Regions from separate parts of the Homo sapiens genome. Here region 1 is linked to region 2. Evidence: promoter capture Hi-C in 16 types of primary human blood cells and fetal thymus (Javierre and others, 2016). All regions are on one chromosome and are shown on one strand. The core of a region is centred on a gene start or on the middle of the fragment in contact, and the rest is flanking DNA. Distances in the headings are between cores, read along the strand shown. Region 1 overlaps TACC1 (transforming acidic coiled-coil containing protein 1). Region 2 holds the start of ADAM32 (ADAM metallopeptidase domain 32).

Region 1 (7,063 bases), core at 3,364-5,863, 270 kb after region 2:
ATGATATAGATGAGAAGAGACTCTAAATTCCATGCAGGAGGATCAATCCCTGTTGTTTTGTAAAGGCACCGCTGGGTCTGATGCAGAGAAATTACAATCTGCACTAGAGTAAGAACCCTGCACCAAAACACAGGATGCTCCCAGTGGGTGTTAGTGATGTGACCAGGCCACCAACAGTCACAGAATTCAAGGCCTGCCATCTTCTAAAATGAACCTAACTACAGTTGACCCTCATTATTCACCAAGTCCATACCTCCCAATTCACCTACTTGCTAAAATTTATTTGTAATCCTAAAATCTATCCTCCTGGACTTTGACAGTCATTTGTGGATGTGTGCAGAGTGCAAAAATGCTTTAGTCACCTGATATGCACGCTCTCAGCTGACAGTGAACAAAGCAATACTCTGCCTTCTTGATTCATTCTATAAACAAGTGTTCTTCTTTTGGTCTATTCAGGCCATGTTTGTTGCACTTGTGTTCTTTTTGCCGGAGACTTCACTGTTTTAAGTGGCCTCCAAGGGCAGTGCCACAGTGCTGTCTAGTGATACCAAGCACAAGAAGGCAGTAAGGTTCCTTAAAATACATACATTACAGAAGCTCTGTTCAGACGTGAGCCAAAGTGCCGCTGACTGTGAGCTCAATGTTAATGAATCAACTATATATATTAAATAAGGTGTCTTTAAACAGGAACACACGTAAAACAAGGTTATATACTGATCAATCAATGAAAATGTTGTGGCCAGATGCAAGACTCTAACTCTGTCTTTTCCCTAGGAGCAGTGTTTATTTACTTATTTATTTTTTGAGATGGAATTTTGCTCATTGCCCAGGCTGGAGTGCAGTGGCACGATCTCGGCTCACCATAACTTCCGCCTCCCAGGTTCAAGCGATTCTCCTGCCTCAGCCTCCCGAGTAGCTGGGATTACAGGCATGCACCACCACGCCCAGCTAATTTTGTATTATTAGTAGAGACGGGGTTTCTCCATGTTGGTCAGGCTGTTTTCGAACTCTCAACCTCAGGTGATCCACCTACCCAAGCCTCCCAAAGTGCTGGGATTACAGGCGTGAGACACCATGCCAGGCCAGGAGCAGTGTTTAGTATTCACTAACTCAGTGTTTGCAGCAACTTTACAGAACATACCTCCCACGAATAATGAGACGACTGTATCTAAGTGACAGACAAATACAAGTTTGTGACATGGTCTGAAAATCATAAATGGATCCGGCTATGGTCTTATAGTTTATGCCACCCCCCAACCCCAAATTTGTGTATTGAAACCTAATCCCCAGTGTGTGAGTATGTTCAGGGTGAAAGTGGGCATGGAAGGGAATTTGGGAGGTGATTATGTCAGGATTAGTGTCCTTATAAAAGAGACCCCAGAGAGCTAGCCAGCCCCTTCTATGAGGAATGGGCCCTCCCCAGACATCTCATCTGTGGGCACCTTGAACTCTCCTGTCTCCAGAGCTATGAAAAATGTTTGTTGTTTATAAGCTACCTAGCTTACATATTTTGTTATACCAGGCTGAACAGACTAAGACAGATCCTATGGCTCATACCCTCAAAAAACAAAATGTTCTCCTTACCAATCATTTGAGCAATAGTCTTTTCATATTCAGCTACAATTTTCCTAAATGAGAAAAAAAGAACTTATTACCAGAGGAGGATTTTCAGACAATGAAAGTTGGAGAAATGCTGTCCCAAACAATTAAACACATTAACATACACTGACAATGTATGTAATCCATTTATCTGCTTTGGGGCTCTCGTTATCTTTTTTTTTTTTTTTTTTTTACATTATATAAGGTTTCTTAAGGTTCTAAAAAGGTTTTTGTTAAGATTTTATCTTTAGTCAAACTTATATTTTACTTATAGAACCAACTGCCTTCCCTTTCTCTTTGCACCTATTTGAATACTGCAAGGAAATAGATTCATTCTGCTTAGATGAGTCAATCTTTTACAAACTAAGTTAAAGATATTCTTCTGGGCTCTTCCTAACAGATGCGATCTGACTTTAGACTTTCCTGAGTCAATCCACCCTTTCAGACACTCTACCTCTGATTCAGTGACAAGTTTTATTTTGTGTCCTAATTCCAAAAGTATTTCACTTATTCAAAGACTTTAAAGATCAACCTCTTGGGTTAACCTTTCTTCTAGTGAAGAATGACAATGTCCTTCTGACCCAGTCCGGTGCTGGGTGCTCTGTGAGTCGCATCACGTCCTCCCCTGCCCTCAATGGTGGTGCCCCCATCACTTTTGACGTCATATCCAAGTTGGTTATTATGGATGGCTACCGCTCTCTAAGAGCAGGAATGTCCCTTCCTTTCCATCAAGCCCAGCAAAGGGCCTTACACCTAGGAAATGCTTAAAAGACAAATAATAAAAGAGCAACAAATTAGAGGGATATACTTAAAATGTTTTTTAATCATTCAAGTGTTGACCACACTGTGTGTGAATTATTTATGCCTTTTTTTCTTCTCTACTTTGATTTCATCTTTAGTCATTTCATGGCTCATAACTCTCCTTTCTAAAAGTGAGGAAAAATAAAAAGATTTCGATTTCAAGTCAATCAATTTTGTTTCTTGTTAACAAGCTTTCTATCATCTATTTGGTGGTTATGTAATTTGAAACTCTCATGCATAATTAATTTTTAAAAAGTATTATGGACCAGGCGCTGTGGCTCATGCCTGCAATCCCAGCACTTTGGGAGGCTGAGGCAGGTGCATTGCTTGAGCTCAGGAGTTACAAACCAGCCTGGGCAACAGAGCGAGACCTCATCTCTAAAAAAAATTATGCAGGCATGGTGGCACATGCCTGTGGTCCCAGCTACTTGGGAGGCAGAGGGGAGAGGATCAGTTGATCCCAGGAGGTTGAGGCTGCAGTGAGCCATGATCACACCACTGCACTCCAGCCTGGATGACAGAGTGAGACCCTGCCTCAAAAAAAAAAAAGTAGTATTATGAATTTCAGTGTCTCTATCATTGGATAAATCTTATTTTTCTGTATTCCAAATGGATATTTTGATACAAATTTCTGTCAGTTCTAAGAAGATAAGAATTATGTGGGTTCTGTTTACATGTTATATGTTCTGAACAACCCAAGATAAACTACAGTATTTGAATATAATAACTGGTTAGCAATAACTCCTGAAATAACATTCTCAATCACAAAGCAAGGTGCAAACAGCAAAGCCCTCAAGCTCTCAACACTTGGTTCTGTGGCAAGCAAACACTGTCATCACTTCATCTGTATCAAATCTAACAGTGCATAAAAGTATCCAGCCCCTCCCCAAAACCTCCAGTCTAACCTCATCTCCAAAACTTCTTGCCGGGTCTCTTCGTATTTCTTCTTCCATTCATTTGCTTCAATCTCTTTAGTAATTATCTAGAGTACAATAAAGCTTAGTTTTACCCAATCTATTACAATTTGCATTTAAGACTGGGAACTGAAATAGCACACAACCAGGTCTAACCCAAGATGTTCAATCTATATTAGAAATATAAACTTCAATATTAAATGTTTGTAACCATTTGGAAAAGTGTATTCTAAGCCACACTGAATGCTGGGATGCAGACACGGGAATAAAGATGAGTAGAACATCTCTCAGAAATCCCAAGTAGTATTTACAGCCTCTGTGAACTTTACCTTGGTCCAGGGTCTAGCTCTCAGCTCTGCAGGGCCAGGCCCTGACTGGGACAGACACCAAGAACAGAGCCATCTGATTGGCAGGTATTCACTCTTAACTAAGGCCATGTAATCACGGCTGATGCCAGGCCACCAGAGTGAAACTGCCACAAAGTCAGACCACTGGAAGTTGGCATGAGCAACACATTCTCTTTCTATAGAGATTTCTGACAGCTTCATAGAAATGGAGTCAGAAGGAGGGGGCTCAGATGAGCTGGCTACATCTAGCTATAGCATCCGTCACTTATGGGTAGAGTCTTGCTAGTTAGCCTGGAACCTAGGCTCATATTTGGGATGCTCTTGCTAACTGGAAGGAAATACTCTAAATTCATTGCCTCAAACTCTATTTGCCCTGGGCTGGGCTTGCATGGGCAGCCTCTTACTGTACTTCCCTGGCCGTGCCGCTCTCTTCCTAATTGGTAGTTTCATTATATTTATTAGGATCTCAAGAACATAGAAGGATGTATCCTGTGTGCTTCAGGTAATCAGGCACCTCTTTACTTTGATCCATTAGGTGGTGATCTCATAGTTTAACTCCCAGGAAAAACATCAAGTCATTTTTCTCATTTACAAGATTTTGGCCAGGGACAGTGGTGCGTGCTTGCAGTCCCAGCTACTCAGGCAGCTGAGGCAAGAGGATCGCTTGACCCTAGGAGTTCGAGGCTGCAATGAGCTATAATTGTGCCACTGCACTCAGCCTGGGTGACAGAGTGAGATCTTGTCTTTTATTTTATTTTTATTTTTCTGAGATGGAGTTTCGCTCTTGTTGCCCAGGTTGGAGTGCAATGGTGCGATCTCGGCTCACCACAACCTTCGTCTCCCAGGTTCAAGCGATTCTCCCACCTCAGCCTCCCAAGTAGCTGGGATTACAGGCATGCACCACCACGCCCAGCTAATTTTGTATTTTTTTTTTTTTTAGTAGAGATGGGGTTTCTCCACGTTGGTCAGTCTGGTCTCGAATTCCTGAACTCAGGTGATCCGCCCGCCTTGGCCTCCCAAAGCACTGGGATTACAGGCATGAGCTACTGCGCCAAGATTTTATCTCAAAAAAAAAAAAAAAAAAAGATTTTGGTGGGCCTTATTACCACTGCTCCCAAGTTTTGAAAACAGGACTAGCTGACATCCCTCATTACCAACTTGATGCTATTTTAGAAAGCTGTAAAAGACCTACAGCTGAGGTGCTTAACCACTTTCAGCATACTATAAAAATTAAAACTAAAAAAAACTATAAAACTAAAAACTATAAAAATAAAATTGCCACACCTTCCTTTAAGAACAGGTGGAATTGTCAAGAAACACACAAAACAAACACACAAAATACAGCATAGATATATGACAGGAGAGGGTGGGCAACTTATTAATGGTACACAACAGTGTCTTTCGTATTTTTCAGATAACCAGGAAAGGCCTAGCAGTGATCTATTTTGAACAAAGGCTGTTCAAGAAACACAATACAGGAATCGGAGAGTTGAACGGTTTAAAGAATGGATGAAAGTAGGAAACAACTGTGTATTACTGCAAAAAAATTACAAATGTTTTTAGGCATTAGCATATATCCTCTGTAAAATAAAAGCACTGATTTAGTTACACATGGGAGCAAAGCTGGCAAAATTAGGTATTTTAAATGTCAGGGCTGAAAGATAAAGAAGGGTACAAAATTCTTAAGAATATTTCAGATTGTCAACATTTTACCCTGGAGACCAGAATGTCAGGACTCCAGCACCACTGCCACAGGGGGCCCTTTTACGACCTAAACAAGCTGCAGGTAATAAGAACTTCCAGCCTGTGATAACTTGAGCCAGCAGAGATGCAATCTACCTGCTGGTACATGGGCCTTACAAAGAAATGGAGTGATAAGCAGACTAAACAGGAGAGCTTTTACCTCTTCTCTTATTAAGGTGAGCACGGCTGTCTTGTCTGATTCGCTGAGGCAGATCCCATCCAGGGGGCTCTCACCTCCACAGGACACCGACACAGGGGCCTTCTCTGCAGAGGACTCCAGCAGCCCCTGTGGGGAAAGGGATTACACTGAATCTGTCAGCTTTCAGCTTCTTAACCCCAGACATCCTTCAACAACTTCCTCATTACTAAATTGATCACATCCTTTAAAACCATGTTTAAAGAAAAGTCAGCGGGGGGAAGCTTTTTAAAAAACAAATCTAATTATGGAAGTAACTAAAGAAAAACTGTTATAATGACTATCAGAGTGGTCTTAGCTTCTGTTGAGCAGATAACCTAGAGAATTTTATTCTGATCTAAAAGGGAGAAAGTGTACTTATAATAGCGGTCAGTCACCAAAGAACCACATGGATAAAAGAGAAACACACCCATGATTAAGTTTCTGGGGATAAGCTCCATGTAAATGGGAATTTCTTTTTTAAAAAAGCAAAAACAAAAACAAGTGACAGCTGCTCCTGTTACATATTGATGCTTTGTATGTATCTTTAGCCACTGCAGATGGAAATGTTTCTAAAATACTAACTTTCAGGCCTAAGAAGGCAGAAATAGCAAATATATTTGAACTCTGAACTCTCACCCCCACCCTTTCACCCGGATGATTCAGGATCATCCTGAACTTCCGCTGCTCCGCAGCGACCTCCTGCTGTAACCCAGCCTGCTGGGTGTGTGCCATTGTTGCCCATATGCAAAATGGCCATACATAAGTCAAGGACCATGCCTGTGTGTTGGTTCTTCCTTGCTACTAAGTTTTCCACTCCCTTCTGGCAGCACTTCGCCCTCTGAGGTGCTGGCTCAGAAGCTCTGAGGAGCTTCTTTCATAAGCTCAGGTTCCAGAGCAAAACACTGGCAAACTTTTCTTTTCATGAGAACATGGACTTTGTACTATTTTCCTTCCTAAAAGACGTTTTTGCTGGCTATTCCTCCTACCTACGGAAGTAAACTTTTTTTTTTTTTTTTGAGACGGGGTCTCACTCTGTGGCCCAGGCTAGAGTGCAGTGGCGCAATCTCGGCTCGCTGCAAGCTCCGCCTCCCGGGTTCACGCCATTCTCCTGCCTCAGCCTCCCGAGTAGCTGGGACTACAGGTGCCCGCCACCACGCCCGGCTAATTTTTCTGTATTTTTAGTAGAGACGGGGTTTCACCGTGTTAGCCAGGATGGTCTCAATCTCCTGACCTTGCAATCTGCCTGCCTCGGCCTCCCAAAGTGCTGGGATTACAGGCGTGAGCCACCGCGCCTGGCCAGAAGTAAACTTTTTATATAAATGAGTCATCTAATACTTTGGGAACATCCAAAATGCCAAAGTGACCTGGAATAATCTTAATCTTAAATGTGGGATAACTAATCAATTAGTTACTGATTATAATCAATCAGTTACATCTTGTGTGAATCAACACTAAACAGAAAGTCCAAGGTGAACGTAGAT
Region 2 (6,919 bases), core at 1,212-3,711:
TGGGAGGCTGAGGCAGGAAAATTGCTTGAACCGGGAGGCGGAGTTTGCAGTGAGCCAAGATCCTGCCACTGCACTCCAGCCTGGGCGACAGAGTAAGACACCATCTCAAAAAAACAATTAAGTAAGTAAATAAGCTATCAAGCCATGAAAAGGCATGGGAGAACCTTAAATGCATATTATTAAGTAAAAAAAAAGTCCATCCAAAATGGCTACATATGATTTCAAATACATGACACTCTGGAAAAGGCAAAACTAAGAAGACTAAGGAGATGAGTTGTTGCCAGGGGCAGTGGGGAGGGAGGGATAAATAAGCAGAACACATGGGATTTGTAGGGCAGTGAAACTATTCTGTATAATACTACAATGGTGGATGCATGTCATTGTACATTTGTCAAAACCATAGAATGGGCAATGTGGAGAATGAACCCTAATGCAAACAAACTGTGGACTTTGGATGATAACAATGTGTCAGTGTAGGCTCAATTGTAACAAATGGATCCCATGGTGCCAGATGTTGATAGTGGGAGAAGCTGTTCATATTTGGGATCAGGGGCTATATGGGAACTCTTTCAGCTCAATTTTGCTATGAACCTAAACGTACTCTAAAAAATAATGTTCATTAATATTTTTTTTTTATTTTATTTTTTGAGATGGAGTTTTGCTCTTGTCACCCAGGCTGGAGTGCGATGGTGCCATCTCAGCTCACTGCAACTCCTGCCTCCTGGGTTCAACCGATTCTCCTGCCTCAGCTTCCCGAGTAGCTGGGATTACAGGCACGCACCACCACGCCCAGCTAATTTTTTTGTATTTTAGTAGCAATGGGGTTTCACCATGTTGGCCAGGCTGATTTCAAACTCCTGACCTCACTCAGGTGATCCACCTGCCTCAGCCTCCCAAAGTGCTGGGATTACAGGCGTGAGCCACCACGCCTGGCCGTTACTTTTATTTTTAATGAATGAAATACACATTCTTACATTTCTATTTTAATTTCTAATATGTTAAACATCGATATAAATCCACATAAACAAAAGCTCTTTGAGAATCTCAAAAATTGTTCATGTATAAGGCAGTTCTGAACCCAAAAACTTTGACAACCACTGCATTAAAATTTTGTATGTGTTATGAACTGAATGTATCCCACAAAATTCTATGTTGAATCCCTAACCCCCAATGTGACAGTATTTGGTTATGGCCTTTGGGAGGTAATCAGGGTTTTAGGCATAGAGTGGGACCCTCATGATGAGATTCATGCCCTTATAAGATGAGACATCAGAGAATTTCCTCCTCCTGTCTTTCCCTGTACACAAAGAAAAGGTCCTGTGAGTACGCAGGGAGAAGGTAGCTGTTTACAAGCCAGGAAGAGAACACTCACCCTAATCTAACCAGGCTGACACCCTGGCCTTGACCACACCTCTGCTATGCTGCAGAGGTAATTATGGCAGGATAGGAAGAAGAGTAGGAAGAGTTCTCAAAAATTTACAGTATCACCAGGGAGGCTTACATGCAAGTAAAATGTTTGGATATGCCCGTATTTTTTTCCTTCTCTTATTACATACTATTCTGAATCTTGTCAGCCAGAGTCAGTACATGGCATGTCTTACTTCCTCCCTCTCCACAGTGGTCCATTTGCATTGTTTGGAGATAACCACAGTTTATTTAGCAGTTCTCTTACTAATGAACTTTTACAGTTTTTCAATCATTTTGCTGTTAAGTACTATATTAGTCAGCTCCCACTGCCATAACAAAATAGTGTAGACTGCATGGCTTAAACAACAGAAATTTATTTTCCTCATAGTTCTGGAGAACTACGATCTGGAGTCTCCCTCTGTTGCCTACTGTTGCCCACTGCACTCCAGCCTGGGCGACAGAAGGGACTCGGTCACACACAAAAATAATTTTTTTAATTTATAAAAAAGACAGGATCTCTGTCGCCCAGGCTGGAGTCCAGTGGGGGCGATCTTGGCTCACTGCAGCCTCCACCTCCTGGACTCACGTGGTCCTCCTCCCTCAGCCTCCCGGGTAGCTGGGATCACAGGTGCGCACCACCACCTCGGAACATTTTTTTAAATTTTTTTGTAGAGATGGGGTCTTGCTGTGTTGCCCAAGCTGGTCTCCAACTCCGAGGTCAAACAATCAGCTCGCCTCAGTCTCTCAAAGCCCTGGGATTACAGGCGTGAGCCCTGGTGCTGGGCCCTGAGTCGCTTCTCCATCCGGACGGGGCGCCTAATCCCCTGGAAAAGGCCCCGTTGCCAGGGTGACAGGACCAAAGGGACCCAGACAGGGAGGGCCCCGGGCTTTGCAGGGAGTCGGGCCGCAGTGTGACGAGCGCCCGGACTAGTGTCAGGGTCTGGGCTGGCTCACCGGGTCTTGACGCCAGGAGGCCGCAGAGCCCGGCCAGCAGCAACCAGAGGCGGAACATGGTGCGGCTTCGGGGCTGCCAGCGGGAAGCCGTTGGGAAGTCGGGAATTGCCAGGGACGCGGGGACGCGCGGACGCCGGGGGCCGCTCCCCGCACGTTCATGGGACAGCGTTCTCCGGAGGCCCCGGAGACGGGGTGCTCTCGGTGTTTAGCGTCCGGAACACGAAGGGCCCGCAGCGTGCGCCCCGAGGCTAAAACATCCAGCTCCCTTCCCGGCGCACCCCAGCCGCGTGGTTGCTGGAGCCACTGACCACCCAGCGCCCTCTGTCGAGATCGCGCTCGTAGTCCTCCACTAACTTTTCGCTTTGTGTTGCTGGACCTTAAGAACTGACACACTTATTCACAGTCAGCGTGTGCTCTCCTGCACCAGACACTTCCCAGTTGCTTTTTTTTCTTTTTGGGACGGGGGTGCTCACTATTCTGCCCAGGCTGGTCTCGAACTCCTGGGTTCAAGTGATCCTCCCTCCTCAACTTCCTGAGTAGCTGGGATTACAGGCATCTGCCACCGTTCGGGGCTTCCTAGGTCCTTTCAAAAGCGAATGTGTAATACTTTCTGAATTAAAATCTATATACACACCTAAATATATATTCATATTTGCCAAACCTGTTTCTAATATTTTTTCAAAACTATTTAGCCAGATGTGTGAACATTCCAAAGAAGGGAAAAGTGAGCCGCTTTTCAATATGAAATGCCAGCTCTTCATATTTTTGAAGAGCGCCAGCTGCATTTTTTTCCCCACTGACGCTGCCCAAATGGACTTCACAACCAGGCTTTTTCCTCCAATCTGGTTCTCCGCAGGCCATTGGCTAAAACTCATGTGATGTCATTCTATTGTTCAGAAACTTCTCAGTGCAATAAATACTTATTTCATGTAGTGAAAGATTTAGAGATTCTTGCCCACAATTACAGTAATTACATTCCAGTAGAAAATTCTAGCCTCAGCATAGTAATTTTTCTGAACTCAGACCGGAACCTGCCACTTAATTTCTCCTATCCCGTGTTTTAGCAGCTCTGACTTTGGGTTTTTCCTAAACACTGCTTTACTCCCTGGAACTGCAATGCCTCCTCCTTCCCAGCCTCACACCTGGTCTCCATCTGTATGCATTAGCTTTTCATTCTTTTCAAATCCCAAAGAATGGATTAATTTCTCATACTACATAATAGGCCAACACATAAACTAAAAGGCCTCATGGGAACAGAGAAAAATCTCACTTGGGGAACTAAGACATTTAAAGTGAAGATGTGATTTTTATGGATGCACGCAATTTCAACAGGGCAATCTACACCTGAAATTAATAGCATGAACAAAAACAAGGCAACAGGCCAGGTGAGGTGGCTCACGCCTGTAATCCCAGCACTTAGGGAGGCCGAGGTGGTTGGATCACCAGAGGTCAGGAGTTTGAAACCAGCCTGGTCAACATGGTGAAACCCCGTTTCTACTAAAAAATACAAAAATTAGCCGGGCATGGTTGTGGGCGCCTGTAATCCCAGCACTTGGGGAGGCTGAGGAAGGAGAATCGCTTGAGCCCAGGAAGTGGAGGTTGCAGTGAGCCGAGATTGTGCCATTGCCCTCCAGCCTGGGTGACGAGCAAAACTCCATCTGGGGCAGGTGGAGGGGTGGGGTGGGGAACAAGGCAACAAAAAAATACACTGAGCTTGTATCTCAATAGGAACAGCCAATGCTAAGCTAACACTGCTTTTAGGCAGCTGCTGAGCCACAGCTAGTTTCACCTTGCTTTGTAACAAACAGAAGAGCAATTACAGTAAATGCTTCAACTCATCAATTAGTGGTAAGTATTCTGAATGAATTTCTGGCTCTTGTATTATTTTGTTCTTTCTTACTCCTCAACCTTTCTGGTTTGTATCTTTAATAGGGTTGATTTTGTATTATTCTTGTGTGTATGCCTCTCTTCATAACAGAGGATGCACTTCTAAAAGTCGGGAAACATATCCTATCCAGAACTTAGATATCACAGTACCTAATACAGTGCCTGAAAAATGGTAGGTTTTAGTAAACATTTATGAAATTTAATAAAATCTGATTTGAGTTTAGAAAACCCAAATTGTGCTTAACTCTATGGTTACAGACACAGGAGAAAGCGAGAATGCAATACTCTGAACAAGGTCAGTTTGACATACAGAGTCAAACAGAGATGTCAAACTTGCATATAATTTACCCTTATTTATTCTTTTTGAAGAAAGAAAGGATGTCCTTTAATATTTTCAAATTTTGAAGTGGCATCCATGACCAAGTAAGTAAAAAACATAAAGCATATTAAAAAATATATAAAAGAAGTTCAGATCCAATAGTCTTTTTAAAAACTTAACTAGTCAAATATCCAAAGAACTATTTAATTCCAAGTGTTAAGTTACATAGTTAATACATTACCAACTGTAAAATTTCAGTGATATGCATCACAATTGCAAAAACTGAGGCTACATGAGTGAACAGCACAAACGTTTGAGTCTTATATGAATTCATTTAGAGATTTAAAATGAAACGATGGACCTTCATTTGAGATTGCTCACAATTTTTAATATGTATACTTGATTGTTAAAATAACATGCTGTCTTCAGAAAACTGAAATTTTTGCCTTCTTCAAAACTAATCTGTTCTTTATTAACAAAAAGCCATTGTGCACACTTTGGCAAAAGTCTGAAAATTAGTGAGATAATATCTGTAAAAATTTGACTAGAATTTTTATCTAAAATTATAACTTTTTAATTAATGAGATTATAAATAGTTGAGTAGGAAGCTACTAGGAGACACAAAAGAGAATTTCAAGTATTTTATTTATTGTAAATGTTGTATTTGTATATGTATATATACACAAACCAAAAACACTTTTAAAAAACTAATGAAATTCAGTTAATAAACCTATTATTAAACTTTATTATGAAAGGTTATGAAAAAATTTTTAGTGCTTAAAATTTTACGATCCATACCATATCTGCCATAGTAAAAATTCATTTTTAACACAGCTAAGATGATAACTCATAGATACCACAGTAACTTTTTTGTAGGTATTTAAGAAAACCATTTCTTCCTTCTTTCTCCAGCCTAATTTCTATGAAAATATTAGTGTCTAATATTTTACATGACCCAGCACACCTTAGTAAATGTAAACATTCTAAATGATTTAATAGCAAGCTTTGAAAGTTCAGATTTTAAAGTGCTCATGAAATTCTCAAGTGGTTTTGTAAAAGTTCAATTGATTGAAGATTTTATAATTGCTCCTGCTTTATTATAGCCATGAATCAACATATTTGATTAGATCTATTAAATACTTCGTACCTTAAAGCTTATAATTTATTTAAAATAGTGCTATTGTGAACGAATGTCATGCTTTCACATGATTCATAATAGAAATTCTAATATTAAATTAATTTCTCTAAGAGTTATTACCTATAGTTGAAAGGTCATAAAAATGGAAGCGAGTAACTGCGTGAATACACACACACTCTTTTAGTATATTTTGTACTTTCAAAATAATATGACATCTTAATTGTGGTTCTTGTGCATTCTTTTGAAGACAATATTTGCTTATTCATGTAGTGAGTGACAGACAAGATTCTAGAGTATGATGATTATTAATTCGTGCATGATGAAAAATATTAGATATTATTGGCAGCTGATTAGTCAGTTTTCACAGGTATTAGATTATCACATGTTCAATGAGGAACTACATTAATGATAACTAAGGTAGAAAATTCAGAATAACACTTAAACACTTAATGACAAAACTCTTACACCAATACAGTTAATTTGAGAATCACTGCAATAACATGTTCAAAAAATCCATGATTAGTGCATTAACCTCACCGATGACTGAATAAGACTTATTCAATGATGGAAACGGAAATGTTATTGTAAATTCCCTGGCTTTACTGCATTTCCTTGTATTTCACAACTCTCACACTCAGTTTCTGTTTTTCTGTGTTAGTGAAGTCTGTTTTGTGGTGTTTTGTTTTCATTCATAGTTGCAACAGAAAGGCTTTTCAAGAAAACATCAAGAAAAAAAAAAAGTATTAGCTCAGTTCCCTGAAGACATTTGCAAAAAGAAGGTTAAAAAAATCAAGTGAGGGAACTATATAAAGGAGGTGCAGGAGCAGGACGGGCAGGAATTAAGTTTCCCTGAGATGATACTTTCGGTTGTGGTGGAGGTGGCCTGCGAGGGGAAAAGAGATAGTTAATAGAGTGTTTAGACTGGGTGAAATAATGCCATATTCATTACAAGCTCAACATAACACCATCCTCAACATCTCTGACAACAGGAAAGGGTACTGTACATTCTGAGATCAGTATTAGGGTGATATTCAATGGCTAAAAGGCTCCAATTAGAGTCTAAAATGGAATAACTACTTTAAATAATATTACTCCATAATCAACAATGTTGTATGAAGGTTCTAGTTTACATGTTTTTTCAAAAAAAAAAAAAGCACATGAAATGGTAAAGATAAACTGTAAAAGACAAGTGAGTACACTAAGTGATCAAGCAC

What was found. The method cuts DNA at HindIII sites, captures the fragments that hold promoters and counts their contacts. A CHiCAGO score of 5 or more calls a contact.
Region 1: a fragment that was not itself captured here is called in contact with the fragment with the promoter of ADAM32 in region 2 in 1 of 17 cell types (total B cells); the score reaches 5.2 in total B cells.

Annotation. Positions count from the first base shown.
Region 1 is chr8:38,834,789-38,841,851 of GRCh38, reverse strand. TACC1 (transforming acidic coiled-coil containing protein 1) reads right to left here. Exons shown (of 13, transcript NM_006283.3): 7 at 5,565-5,690; 8 at 3,306-3,382; 9 at 1,585-1,628. Among named protein-coding and RNA genes, the nearest start is that of TACC1, 51 kb to the right of the region's middle. RefSeq lists an enhancer at 6,187-6,970. The HindIII fragment of the contact is 2,426 bases long and covers 3,401-5,826 here.
Region 2 is chr8:39,103,276-39,110,194 of GRCh38, reverse strand. ADAM32 (ADAM metallopeptidase domain 32) reads right to left here and starts at 2,461. Exons shown (of 25, transcript NM_145004.7): 1 at 2,362-2,461. The coding sequence starts at 2,419. ADAM9 (ADAM metallopeptidase domain 9) reads right to left here. Exons shown (of 22, transcript NM_003816.3): 22 at 4,934-6,588. The coding sequence ends at 6,495. The HindIII fragment of the contact is 5,845 bases long and covers 1-5,572 here.